4 separate regions of the Homo sapiens genome follow, and all the other regions are linked to region 4. Evidence: promoter capture Hi-C in 16 types of primary human blood cells and fetal thymus (Javierre and others, 2016). All regions are on one chromosome and are shown on one strand. The core of a region is centred on a gene start or on the middle of the fragment in contact, and the rest is flanking DNA. Distances in the headings are between cores, read along the strand shown.

Region 1 (2,704 bases), core at 27-2,526, 530 kb before region 4:
AATAGCTGTGGTCTCTATATTTAATCAAACAAAAACTAGAAGAAAATGGGGGCAGGAGGGCATTGTTGTTGTTTTGACTAAAGTGGTTTGGGCAAGGTCATCTGTTCCAGGTTAGAAGAGAGACATTATTTGACAGACAGCACAAATTACTGATTCAATACTTGGGGGCTCTTAATTCTTGTTAAACATGTATGGTGAATTACTACAGGGGACGAGAGAGGTTTTGAACAAGTTTAAACACATTTGACGACATCTAGCTTAAAAACTCCTTGTCACCTTTCCTGGAAATTGATGTGAGTACCCAACAGAGGTAAAGGATGGCTAAATAATTATTACATTGGCCTTTTGAGGAAAATGCCTAAGTGGCAGGGATGACTTGTTCTCTGCTAAGGCTCTGAGTACTCTTAGATCCATGGTCTTCTAGACTTGAGCTGTCTTGTGCATTCTCTAGTTGCTTTGGAGGTCTCCATTTTGGTGACAACAGAGGCATTATCAGTTGCTTCTGGAATGACAGCCATAATTATTTAGTGCCAGACACTATACACAGCTTTATTTTTATATATATTCTTCAAACCAAAGTCACAAGGAGCTCTAAGATTGTCCTAACATTATCTTATGGTAGGTTGGTCACATCCTTCAGATTTCTCATACGCTTCTGAGAGCAATTCATTCCAATGGTTTAGCCATTGACACAAGAACCAGCTTAAGACCGAGAGCCTGAACTGTAGCTCTGAGCTTCTGTTTCTGGGGTGTGCCTGCTCCTCTCCTCTCTCCACACTATTTTCCTTCTTTCAGTTGAGTTCACCCAACATACATTGGGTAACTGTGTGCCAAGTTCTTTCGAATGTATTGGGTAGTGGGTGGTGATACAGGCTGTAGAGTCAGACCAACCTGGCCTGAAACCTGGCTAGGAGACTTAGGGGAAGTTACTTTACCCCTCTAAGTCTCAGTTTCTTCAATGACTATCCTCAAATGAGACAATGCACACAAAGTATTTAGCAGAGTGCTTGGCACACAGGAGATGTGCAGGACATAATATCTCTCACTATTACACAGATATACACGACAGATCAAAAACAGCTCATGAGCTAGTGGGAAGGAAAACACTACAGGCCATCTGAGTATTTCCTAGTAAGGGCTAGTTTCAAAGGAGTAATAATTATTCCAGCCTTAGTAAGTGGGTAGGTGGAAGATGGGGCTCAGAGGAGTAATACAGGAAATGATACCTGAGCTATGCTTTATTGGATAAGCAGTGGAAGCCATCCTCTGTGGTTTGAAAGACAATCATAAACCTTGTAGAGTCATAAGTAACATGGCAAATATGAGGTGACTTTGGAAGCTCCACACCATTTCTTCTATGTATTAAATGCACATGCTAAGGAGAGGATACCACTTGCATCATGTCATGCTGGTGGCAGCAAAGAGGCCAACAGAGAGCACAAGCACAAGCACGGCAGCAAGTAGGAGGAGGATGGAGACTGTGTAGGAGGGAGAGAATGAGGTGGGGAGAAGCAGAAGCCAGGCAGGAACGCAACCGCGGGCTTTCACCAATCTGTGGAATGTAGGGGAACTCAAACTCAGAGCCTGCAGGGATGGAACTGGACAGTCCCCAAGAACTCTGCACTTGGGACTCTGCCCAGCCGTGTGGCCACACCCAGGGCCCCAGCTGTCTGGTTCTCAGCAGCTCTGCCCAGGCTCTTCACCTTTGTCAATCCGATCTTCCTGCTTCTTTGTCTGCTTTGATTACCTAAGCCATGCCTGCCACATCACCCCATCCCTCCATCTTTTCTCTTATTATCCCCCATATAGAATGACTTTTTGTTCACATCTATCGGTAAAAAAATTTCACCTATTTTATTTTTATTTACTTATTTATTTGTTTTTTTGAGGCAGAGTTTTGCTTTTGTCACCTAGGATGGACTGCAGTGGCATGATCTTGGATCATTGCAACCTCCACCTCCTGGGTTCAAGCAATTCTCCTGCCTCAGCTTCCTGAGTAGCTGGGATTACAGGTGCCTGCCACCACGCCCAGCTAATTTTTGTATTTTTTTTTCTTTTTTTTTAATAGAGACAGGGTTTTCCCATGTTGGCATGTTGGCCAGGCTGGTCTTGAACTCCTGACCTCAGAAGATCCACCCGCCTTGGCCTCCCAAAGTGCTGGGATTAAAGGTGTGAGCCACCACACCTGGCCTATTTTATTTTTTTGACAGGGTCTCGCTCTGTCACCCAGGCTGGACTTTAGTGGCATGATCATGGCCCACTGCAACCTCCCCCTCCTGAGCTCAAGCTGTTCTCCCACCTCAGCCCTCCAAGTAGCTGGGACCACAGACATGCACTACTATGCCCAGCTAATTTTTGTATTTTTTTTATAGAGAAAGGGTCTCCCCATGTTGCCCAGGATGGTCTTGAACTCCTGGGCTCAAGCAATCCTCCTGCCAGGCCTCCCAAGGTGCTGGGATTACAGGCGCGAACCACCACAGCTGGCCAATAAAACATTATAAACCTAAAAAATATGTAAAAGATTTTCCTTATTCCTGCTGCATCTATGCACTTCAAGCCTTGCCTATATTGTGATATGCCAAAATATGTGTTAGTCAAATTTAATGTCTTTATGATATCTAGTATTAAAAAAAGACAACTTCTTTGAGTGCCTTTAGAGTATACACAGCAAAGACTATGGGATTCCAGAGGGTGTAGCCAATGA
Region 2 (3,063 bases), core at 287-2,786, 710 kb before region 4:
TAGTTTTAGGGTACAAATCTCCCGTTTGCAGCATCTGCCAAGTCTGCTTCCTTGCAGTTAATTTCCTTACATATTCTGTAATCTTTGCAAACTCATCTATAGAGAGATCGATATCTATAGAAGTCAAGGATTCCTTGAATTACAGGAACTTTGCTATGCAGAGAGGTTTTTCATTGATCTTTGCCTGGCCCTGGGTGTCAGAGGTACCAGACCAGCTAAAATGTCAATTTCTTGGACTACGGTCCTGACCATGTAGTAATATGAATTCAGACCCCAGACTTGAGCTAGTATGGACCATTAATCTCTAATCTCTAGCAGCTGACTCTTTTCTTACCATAGCTCAAGTAGATGGCAAGCTTCCTTCTTGCCTCCTCAGGTCAATAAGGGGATGTTTTTCTAGTTATCTTCTTAGGGTCAAAGGGTTCTTGTGGTAGATTTTATTTTTCAAAGATAGGTGTACTAATGCATATGCAGTCCCACATGCTCTTCCTTCACTGTGATGTTCCTCCTCTCCTCCATCAAGAGGTGAGATGTTTCTTTCCCTGAAACCAACTTCCTCAGCCAAACAAAAAAACAGTAGAAACCACACTATGTGATTTCCAAAGCTAGGTCATAAAAGTGATATGACTTCCACTTGGCTCTCAGGACACTCACCTTTGAAATCCAGCCACCATTTTGTGAGGAAGCCAGGTGACATGGAGAGGCCACATACAAAGATTACAGCTGACATCTACAGCTAAGGTCTCAGTCAAGAGCCAGCATCAACCACCAGACATGTGAGTGAATAAACCTTCAGGAGATTCCCGTCCTGAGCCTTCAAATCTTCCAGCTGAGGCTCCAGACATCCTGAAGCAGAGCCAAGCTGTCTCTGCTGTGCACTGTCCGAATTCCTGACCCACAGAATCCATGAGCACAATAAATGGTTGTTTCATACCACTAAGTTTTGGAGAAATTTGTTATGAAGCCATAGTAACTGAACAGTACTTCTTTGTGACTCCCAGCTTTCAGCAGATGGCTCAACGGTGGCTTTCTCTGTGAACATTCCTTCATTTCAGGCACCTGGGGATTTCCTTTTCTTTGTTCCTAGCTTAGCCACATTTCCATAAATTATCTTTTACTCAGCATTTGAAATATATTGAAGCAAAATGGGGACCCTTCCATGCCAGCTCAGTCTGCCACATTGCCCAGAAGTTCCCAGAATAGCTTTTTAAATAATGACATAAAGAACTGAATAATTTATTTATTTATTTTTAAACGGAGTCTCACTCTGTTGCCCAGGCTGGAGTGCAGTGGCACGATCTCAGCTCACTGCAACCTCCACCTCCCAGGTTCAAGCAGTTGTCCTGCCTCAGCCTCCTGAGTAGCTGGGATTACAGGCACATGGCCCCAGGCCCAGCTAAATTTTTTTGCATTTTTAGTTGAGAAGGGGTTTCACCATGTTGGCCAGGCTGGTCTTGAACTCCTGACCTCAGGTAATCCACCCACCTCGTCCTCCTAAAGTTCTGGGGTTACAGGCATGTGCCACCACTCCTGGCCAGTAATTTATTTTATATATACACATACATATACATATATATATACACATATATATACACATATATATATACACACACACACATATACATACATACATACATATATACATATATGTATATATTAAAATCAAAAAAGAAAAGAAAAATAATCCTGAGAGTGCATTTATTAAAGACCAGGTAACTTGTTGCAGAGAAAATACAGTCAATAAAAAATTCATTCTCTCTAGTACTCAAATAAAAGGCAGATAATATAATGAGCTACTTTCGCCAATCAAAATGGCAGGGATTTTTTTCTTTACTATTAATAGAGTAAGATGGAGTGCAAGGAATAAGGTTTCAGTGGGAGTATATATTGGTGTAATATTTCCAGCGAATAATCTAGTAATATACATGTCCTTATAATTGTATATATTTTTGACCCAGCAATTCTACTTCTGGGAATTTATCCTAAAGAAATAATCACTGGCCAGGTGTGGTGGCTCACACCTGTCATCCTAGCATTTTAGAAGGCAGAGACAGAAGGATCTCTTGAGCCCAGGAGTTTGAGACCAGCCTAGGCAACATAATGAGACCCTGTCTCCACAAAAAGAAAAAGAAATAATCATTGATACATGAATATCAATTCCTGTATTTCTTATAATAGAAAAGAGAATGAAAATAACTCAAATGTCAAACAGCAGGTGGCAAAATAATCTTTAATTTTAGGGTTGTTTGAACCAAAATAATTACCAAGTGAACATAAAGAAAGATGAGTTATAGATTCATTGAGAAAGATATTTATTTATTCATGTCATGCATTGTGCTAGTAGTTGTAATACAACAATGATTAAAGATAAAGCACATGGTCTATGGGAGGTAGTGGGGAGGAGTAATTAGTTCATTACGATAAAGCTACGTTCAAATTCTATGGCACAACAGAACTTTTGCTGACCTTAACCAGACTGGAGAAGTAGGAAGGTTTTCTTTGTTTGTTTGTTTGTTTATTTGTTTGTTTTTGCTTTTTGAGCAAGTGATGTTCAAGCTAAGTCCCAAAGGTTTTCACAAGTAGAAATCAACTGTGGGAGAGAAGGTTGTTTGTCCACTAAAATCCTGGCTCCTCCTCCAGAGAATAGCGTTTGTTCTAGGAAGTGGCTGCCTCCCTGTGACTGGAATGTGAGCCAATGTAATGTGTAACACTGCAAGAAGCTTCTAAGAAGCTAAGCAAGTATGCTTTCTCCATAGTTTCTCCTTGCCTTTCTGCTGACTGGATTTAGACAAGAGTGAAGTGCTGACGAATGGCAGAGTCTGGGTCCTTCTACCAAGTGAAAGCAAGCCGTTTGCTGACCAGGGACGCCTACCTTGAAATTGTTATGTGAGCAAGAAATAACTTTTCTATGTTAAATCAAGAAAATGTTGGGATCTGTTTGTCACTACAGCTAGCAATAGGCTAATACATGTGACTTTTTATTCTCAAATAATGTAGTAACTCACTTAAATATATTCATTAAGCATGTACGATATACACATAAATGTGTCACGTGCACAAAAA
Region 3 (2,700 bases), core at 21-2,520, 680 kb before region 4:
ATACTATACTAGAATTTTATTACGAAAGCCCAACTTGCGTGTTTCTGGGCCTTTTCTGTACTTTTCCATAGCTTGTATTGGAGAGAGTTATTATTTCCTTGAGAATAGTGTAGTGCATCCTTCGTCACCCAGCTTCCTTCTTTCTCTTCCTAGTTTGCATATCAGCATTGACAAATTAGACACAAAAAAAGTCACGAATGGATAGGGCTCTTCTACAAGGACTGGCTGAACAAAGTTCTATGAATAATTGGTACCAAAATATCAGTTAAGTGTGGTTTTAGTTTAGTTCATTTTGTTAGCTTATCTCCTAACAAAATGTAAAACCTTTATTCTGTTATATAATATTCTTATGGGATCAGAATTCCAGATAGCTTCATAAGCTTTGCCTTTGAAATGTTAATCATGGATTTTCAAAATTGTGCACTTTGGGCCACTGGTAGTGTCCAAACTTATAGTCCAAGCATGTGATCTATAAAGGGGTAATTATTCCCTAAATGAGGTTTTCTCACAGGCTTACCATAGTATAAAAGCCTCTATGGTTCACTTGTCCAAGGTAAAGTTGGAAAGCCAGTGAGGTAAGTGCCAAGGCTGACGGAGTCTACAGTCCCTGTCTTGAAAGCTAAGCCTTCAAAGCCTCTGTGGATGCAGAGGGAAGGATTTGAAGTCTTTTAGGTTTCTTCTTTACAAACTTTGTTCTAATGGGATTGGGTGGCTTGCTAGTGCTAAAAATGGATCCAAGGTAAATAGACATAGAGTCAGTCCACAAAGTCCCATGGTCATTCATACTAGGGGCTCTTGCACTAGGGGCTCTTGGCATTGATTTGAACCAGGCTTTACCTGATAAATGCTAGGGGTAGGAGGCACTGGGAACAGAAAGAGGATCAATTATATTGCCTGTTTCACTGAACTCTTAGGAGAGTTGATCTGAAGCCACGTGAGGTTGGGAGTAGACAGATTGCTCAGGCTCACTCTAGAACCTTCTTCTCGGCTTGTAGTCCCGAGCAGCCACAGCAGCACCACCTAACTACTGAATCTGAGTCTGCATTTGATTCAGAGCCCAGGTGATTCCTACACGCATGTGCGCCAAAGTTTGAAGAGGAACTACTCTTCCCACTTTTTCAATATTCCATCTCCCCCTTACCCACATACACACACTTTTTTTTTCCTGAGCTAACCAGCCCTTTAGGAATCTTGTACCTAGGAAGATGTCAGACCACGCACTCTGGGGCCCACTCTGATCTAGGTTTATTTTTTAAATTTTGATTCAGGTCCAGTGTCTGAATGGTTGCTCTGCCCAGGGTGGAGTTTTCACAGCCCTAAGCACCACAGCAGAAAGTCAGGGCCGGCCAGTGAAGAACTGTGTGGCATTGCTGGATAATGGAAGGAATGGTGTCTCATGTATATTTGTTGTCCTTAAAAGGAAGTTTTCTTTTTTCAGTTCTCATAATTTAGTAATGATATTTTCGGTGGTTTAACCAGAGTTGTGATTGGTAAGTGATTGGTGTCATCTTCTATGACATTTCAATATTGTTCCTCTGTGAGGTAGCTAGAATATATCAGACTTGTTGGATCAGTATTATTGTCCTTCAAAGGTACTTCTTAATTTCATGGTGGAGTGGTGGTTTGAAGTATAGAAACTAAAAGTGATGAAGTTTTGAGTCCATATTTAAGTTGTTGCCTTTTTTTTTTTTTTTTTCAATTTCCAGCCCCAAATATATTCCAAACCTGGAAAATGTCATTACAATATGAGAATGAAAACTTAAGGGACAATCATCACTGGAGTATACGGGACTTCCTTTCCTAATGTACATGTTCTTTCTAGTGAGTAGTTCTCATGTGGGTGATTTTGCCCCCAGGAAACATTGGTAACATCTGGAGACATTTTTCTTGTCAGACTGGTGGAGCTGCTGCTGGCATCTAGTGGAGAGAGGTCAGGGATGCTGCTTCAACATCCTTCCATGCATAGGGCAATCCTATGGCTTAAAATTACCCAGCCCCAAATGTAATGGTGCTGAGATTGAGAAACGCTGTTCTAGAGCACTGGTTCCCAAACTCAGCTACAAATGGGAACCACCTGAGGGACGTTGCCTCCTGATGCCTGATTCTCCCATTGGAGATTCTGGTATAATTGGTCTGAGAGGTGACCTGAACACCAGGAGGAAAAGCTTCCCAGGTGATTCTAATGTACCAAACCACTGATTTATAGGAAAGTTGCCATCTGCAATCTTTAAAATCCTTTAAGAGGTTCACAAATACTTATTTTTGTTTTTTAACAATGCCTATCCCAATGTAGGTACCTCATAGACCCTCATATGTGTTGAGTGAATTCTAAGTTCTAACAGTGCATGTTTAAAAACAGAATAAGTTTTCAGGTGTAATCTCTTGAATATATTTACCCTTCATTTATGTAAAGATTTTAACTTTTTAAAGATTTCACAGTAAGCAAACTAGAAAGCAGGGAAGAATTTGAACTATTTACACTTAGGAATTACAGGGGTTGATGATGGGGACATTGAGAGCTGTGCTGTTGGAACAGGGGCTAAGAAGTCTGCCACTGCAGATGGCCGGAGCAGTGGCTAAGCTCGCATGCATGTGTTTATGCGTCATGGAAGTAGTTACTGGTCACTAGAGCAGAACCGAAGCCTCTGCCCTTTGGAAGATCTGTCTTTATTACAATTTCTGAGAAGCAGTTTGAGTTTG
Region 4 (2,700 bases), core at 179-2,678:
AAGCTGGTTTCAAACTCCTGACCTCAGGTGATCCGCCCACCTTGACCTCCCAAAGTGCTGGGATTTACAGAGGTGAGCCACTGCGCCTGGCCTGTTTGTTTGTTTTTGAGACCGAGTCTCACTCTGTTGCCCAGGCTGGAGTGTAGTGGCCCAATCTTGGCTCACTGCAACCTCTGCCTCCTGGGTTCAAGCGATTCTCCTGCCTCAGCCTCCCGAGTAGCTGGGATTACAGGTGTGTGCCACCATGCCTGGCTAATTTTTATATTTTTAGTAGAGACGGAATTTCACCATGTTGGCCAGGCTGGTCTTGAACTCCTGACCTCAAGTGATCCACCCACCTTGGTATCCCAAAATGCTGGGATGACAGGCATGAGCCACCGTGCCCAGCTGAGAATTTGTTTTATAAAGCAGGAGGCCCCATCCTCTGGGGGCCGTGGACCAGTACCAGTCCATGGCCTGTTAGGAATCTGGTTGTGGCTTGTTAGGAAGTGGGCTGCACAGCTGGAGGTTAACAGCAGGTGAGCGAGCATTACCACCTGAGCTCCAGCTCCTGTCAGACCAGCAGCAGCATTAGATTCCCATGGGAGCAGGAACCTTGTTATGAAGTATACAAGCGAGGGATCTAGGTTGCGTGCTCCCTATAAGAATCTAATGCCTGATGTTCTGAGGTGGAACAGTTTCACCCTGAAACCATCCCTCCCCATCCCCTCAGTCCGTGGAAAAATTGTCTTCCATGAAACTGATCCCTGAGGCCAAAAATGTTGGGGACTGCTGTTATACAGAGCTGTAGGAGAGAAGAATAATGCAGAGGGAAAAGGAGTGCCTGTCTGTTGAGACTTTCAGGGGGACCTAGGGACTGGTTTTGTTACAGTTGACTGGGAATTGTCTTGTTTATTTTATTTTATTTTTCATTTAAAAAATTTTTTTGAAATGGAGTCTTGCTCTGTTGCCCAGGCTGGAGAGCAGTGGTGCCATCTTGGCTCACTGCAACCTCTGCCTCCCAGATAAAGTGAAGCTCCTGCCTCAGCCTCCTGAATAGCTGGGATTACAGGCATGCACTACCACACCTGGCTAATTTTTGTATTTTTAGTAGAGATGTGTTTCATCATGTCAGCCAGGCTGGTCTTGAACTCCTGACCTCAAGTGATCCACCTGCCTCAGCCTCCCAAAATACTGAGATTACAGGCATGAGCCACCGTGCCTGGCCAAAGTGTCTTGTTTTATTTTTAAGTCTTTGATCACTCTCATTTACAGTAAGTGTTTGAAGAGTACATTCTAAATCATTTTTCTCTCTTCCTTTACAGGAAGTGCTCAAATGTTGAGCACACACACACAAAAAAAGAGGAAACAGTTGGATAGGAACTCAGAAATCATGTGACTGATGACTAAGTTAAATCTTTTCTGCTTACTGAAAAGGAAGAGTCTGATGATTAGTTACTGATCCTCTTTGCATTTGTAAAGCTTTGGAGATATTGAATCATGTTACCATTTCTGTTTTTTTCCACCCTGTTTTCTTCCATATTTACTGAAGCTCAGAAGCAGTATTGGGTCTGCAACTCATCCGATGCAAGTATTTCATACACCTACTGTGGTAAGTAAAACCGCAAAACAAATAATTGTAGCATCAACTATTTTGAGGGTAAGTTTTCACGAGAACCGTACACTGTTGTGGCTGGAACACACGAAACATCAGTGTGTTCCAGCTGCTGTGGCGGACGCTGCCAGCAGGAAAAGCAATAGCTGGCAGCTGCCCCATGAGAATGTTCTCGACCACTCACAGAGCTTGTGAGTCTCTAAACTGTGTTGTGCTTGACCTCCAAGTGCTTCTGTTCCCTGCGTCATCTTTCTCTACCCTGAGCCCAGTTTTTGGTTCTGCCCATTTTTAATAAAACCATCTGCTTCTGAGCTTTCACCTCAGCCTTGACACTTACTAGTTCTTCTTCTTGAGATGGTAGAGCAGTCCCAGCTGCTTCCTGGAGTTGATTTCTGCTCTAAGCTGTGACTCTTGAGTGCTCTTGGAATCATCCCCCTCACTGGATGAAAGCCTGGTTCTGTCACTAGCTGTGTGACCTTAAGCAAAGTACTCCAGCCTTTTTAGCACTGAAGTGAAAGTGATTTTATAGTCTACTTGATAAGGGTGTTGTGAGGTGAAGTTTTTTAGCATAGGGTCACATAGAGACAATAATACTCTTAATTTTTTTTTGGAGTCAGCCATACCCTAATACTATTCACTGGCTGTGTCACTGTCCCCTGCCCCAGCTGCTCATTAGCAAGTGTCCTGGGATCTGAAGGCACAGTGTCAGGCCTGACAGCTGTTTTGGTTCGGTACTTTCCACCGTGCTGCTTACCATGGGTTGGCTGCCCTTTTCCACCCACTAGCAATAGCTGGGAGGTTTAAAGTGGTGCTTCCCAAAATACCAGTTCTTTGAGATTCTTTTGGGAAAATAGGATCTATGACCTAATCATCTGGGAGAGATTTACAGATGTACTTTGGGTTCTGAGAAGTTCTGCAATAAAGGCACCTGTTTAACCACATTTTCAATTTCATTTGTTGTTTGTTTGTTTGTGTTTTAGTCTGGAGTGTATGTTAACTCTCTTGAGAAACATGCTCTGCCAAATGCTAATATAAAGTGACTTTCGGGAAATTGGGATAATTGCCACATGTGAGGAGGAGACTTAGGAGTGTGGCCAGTCACACAC

The links. The method cuts DNA at HindIII sites, captures the fragments that hold promoters and counts their contacts. A CHiCAGO score of 5 or more calls a contact.
Region 1: a fragment that was not itself captured here is called in contact with the fragment with the promoter of LY96 in region 4 in 1 of 17 cell types (M2 macrophages); the score reaches 7.4 in M2 macrophages.
Region 2: a fragment that was not itself captured here is called in contact with the fragment with the promoter of LY96 in region 4 in 3 of 17 cell types (monocytes, total CD4 T cells and activated CD4 T cells); the score reaches 6.9 in monocytes.
Region 3: a contact is called between a fragment that was not itself captured here and the fragment with the promoter of LY96 in region 4, in 4 of 17 cell types (M0 macrophages, naive CD8 T cells, activated CD4 T cells and 1 more). The highest score is 6.9, in M0 macrophages.

What each region holds. Positions count from the first base shown.
Region 1 is chr8:73,460,211-73,462,914 of GRCh38, forward strand. The region is part of intron 13 of STAU2 (staufen double-stranded RNA binding protein 2); the gene reads right to left. Among named protein-coding and RNA genes, the nearest start is that of STAU2-AS1, 41 kb to the left of the region's middle. The HindIII fragment of the contact is 5,817 bases long and covers 1-2,704 here.
Region 2 is chr8:73,279,138-73,282,200 of GRCh38, forward strand. It overlaps a transcript of C8orf89 not described here. Among named protein-coding and RNA genes, the nearest start is that of RPL7, 13 kb to the right of the region's middle. The HindIII fragment of the contact is 2,364 bases long and covers 355-2,718 here.
Region 3 is chr8:73,307,932-73,310,631 of GRCh38, forward strand. The region is part of intron 2 of RDH10 (retinol dehydrogenase 10); the gene reads left to right. Among named protein-coding and RNA genes, the nearest start is that of RDH10, 15 kb to the left of the region's middle. The HindIII fragment of the contact is 1,785 bases long and covers 379-2,163 here.
Region 4 is chr8:73,989,964-73,992,663 of GRCh38, forward strand. LY96 (lymphocyte antigen 96) reads left to right here and starts at 1,429. Exons shown (of 5, transcript NM_015364.5): 1 at 1,429-1,591. The coding sequence starts at 1,480. RefSeq lists enhancers at 1,671-1,770, 2,141-2,210. The HindIII fragment of the contact is 3,298 bases long and covers 1-1,459 here.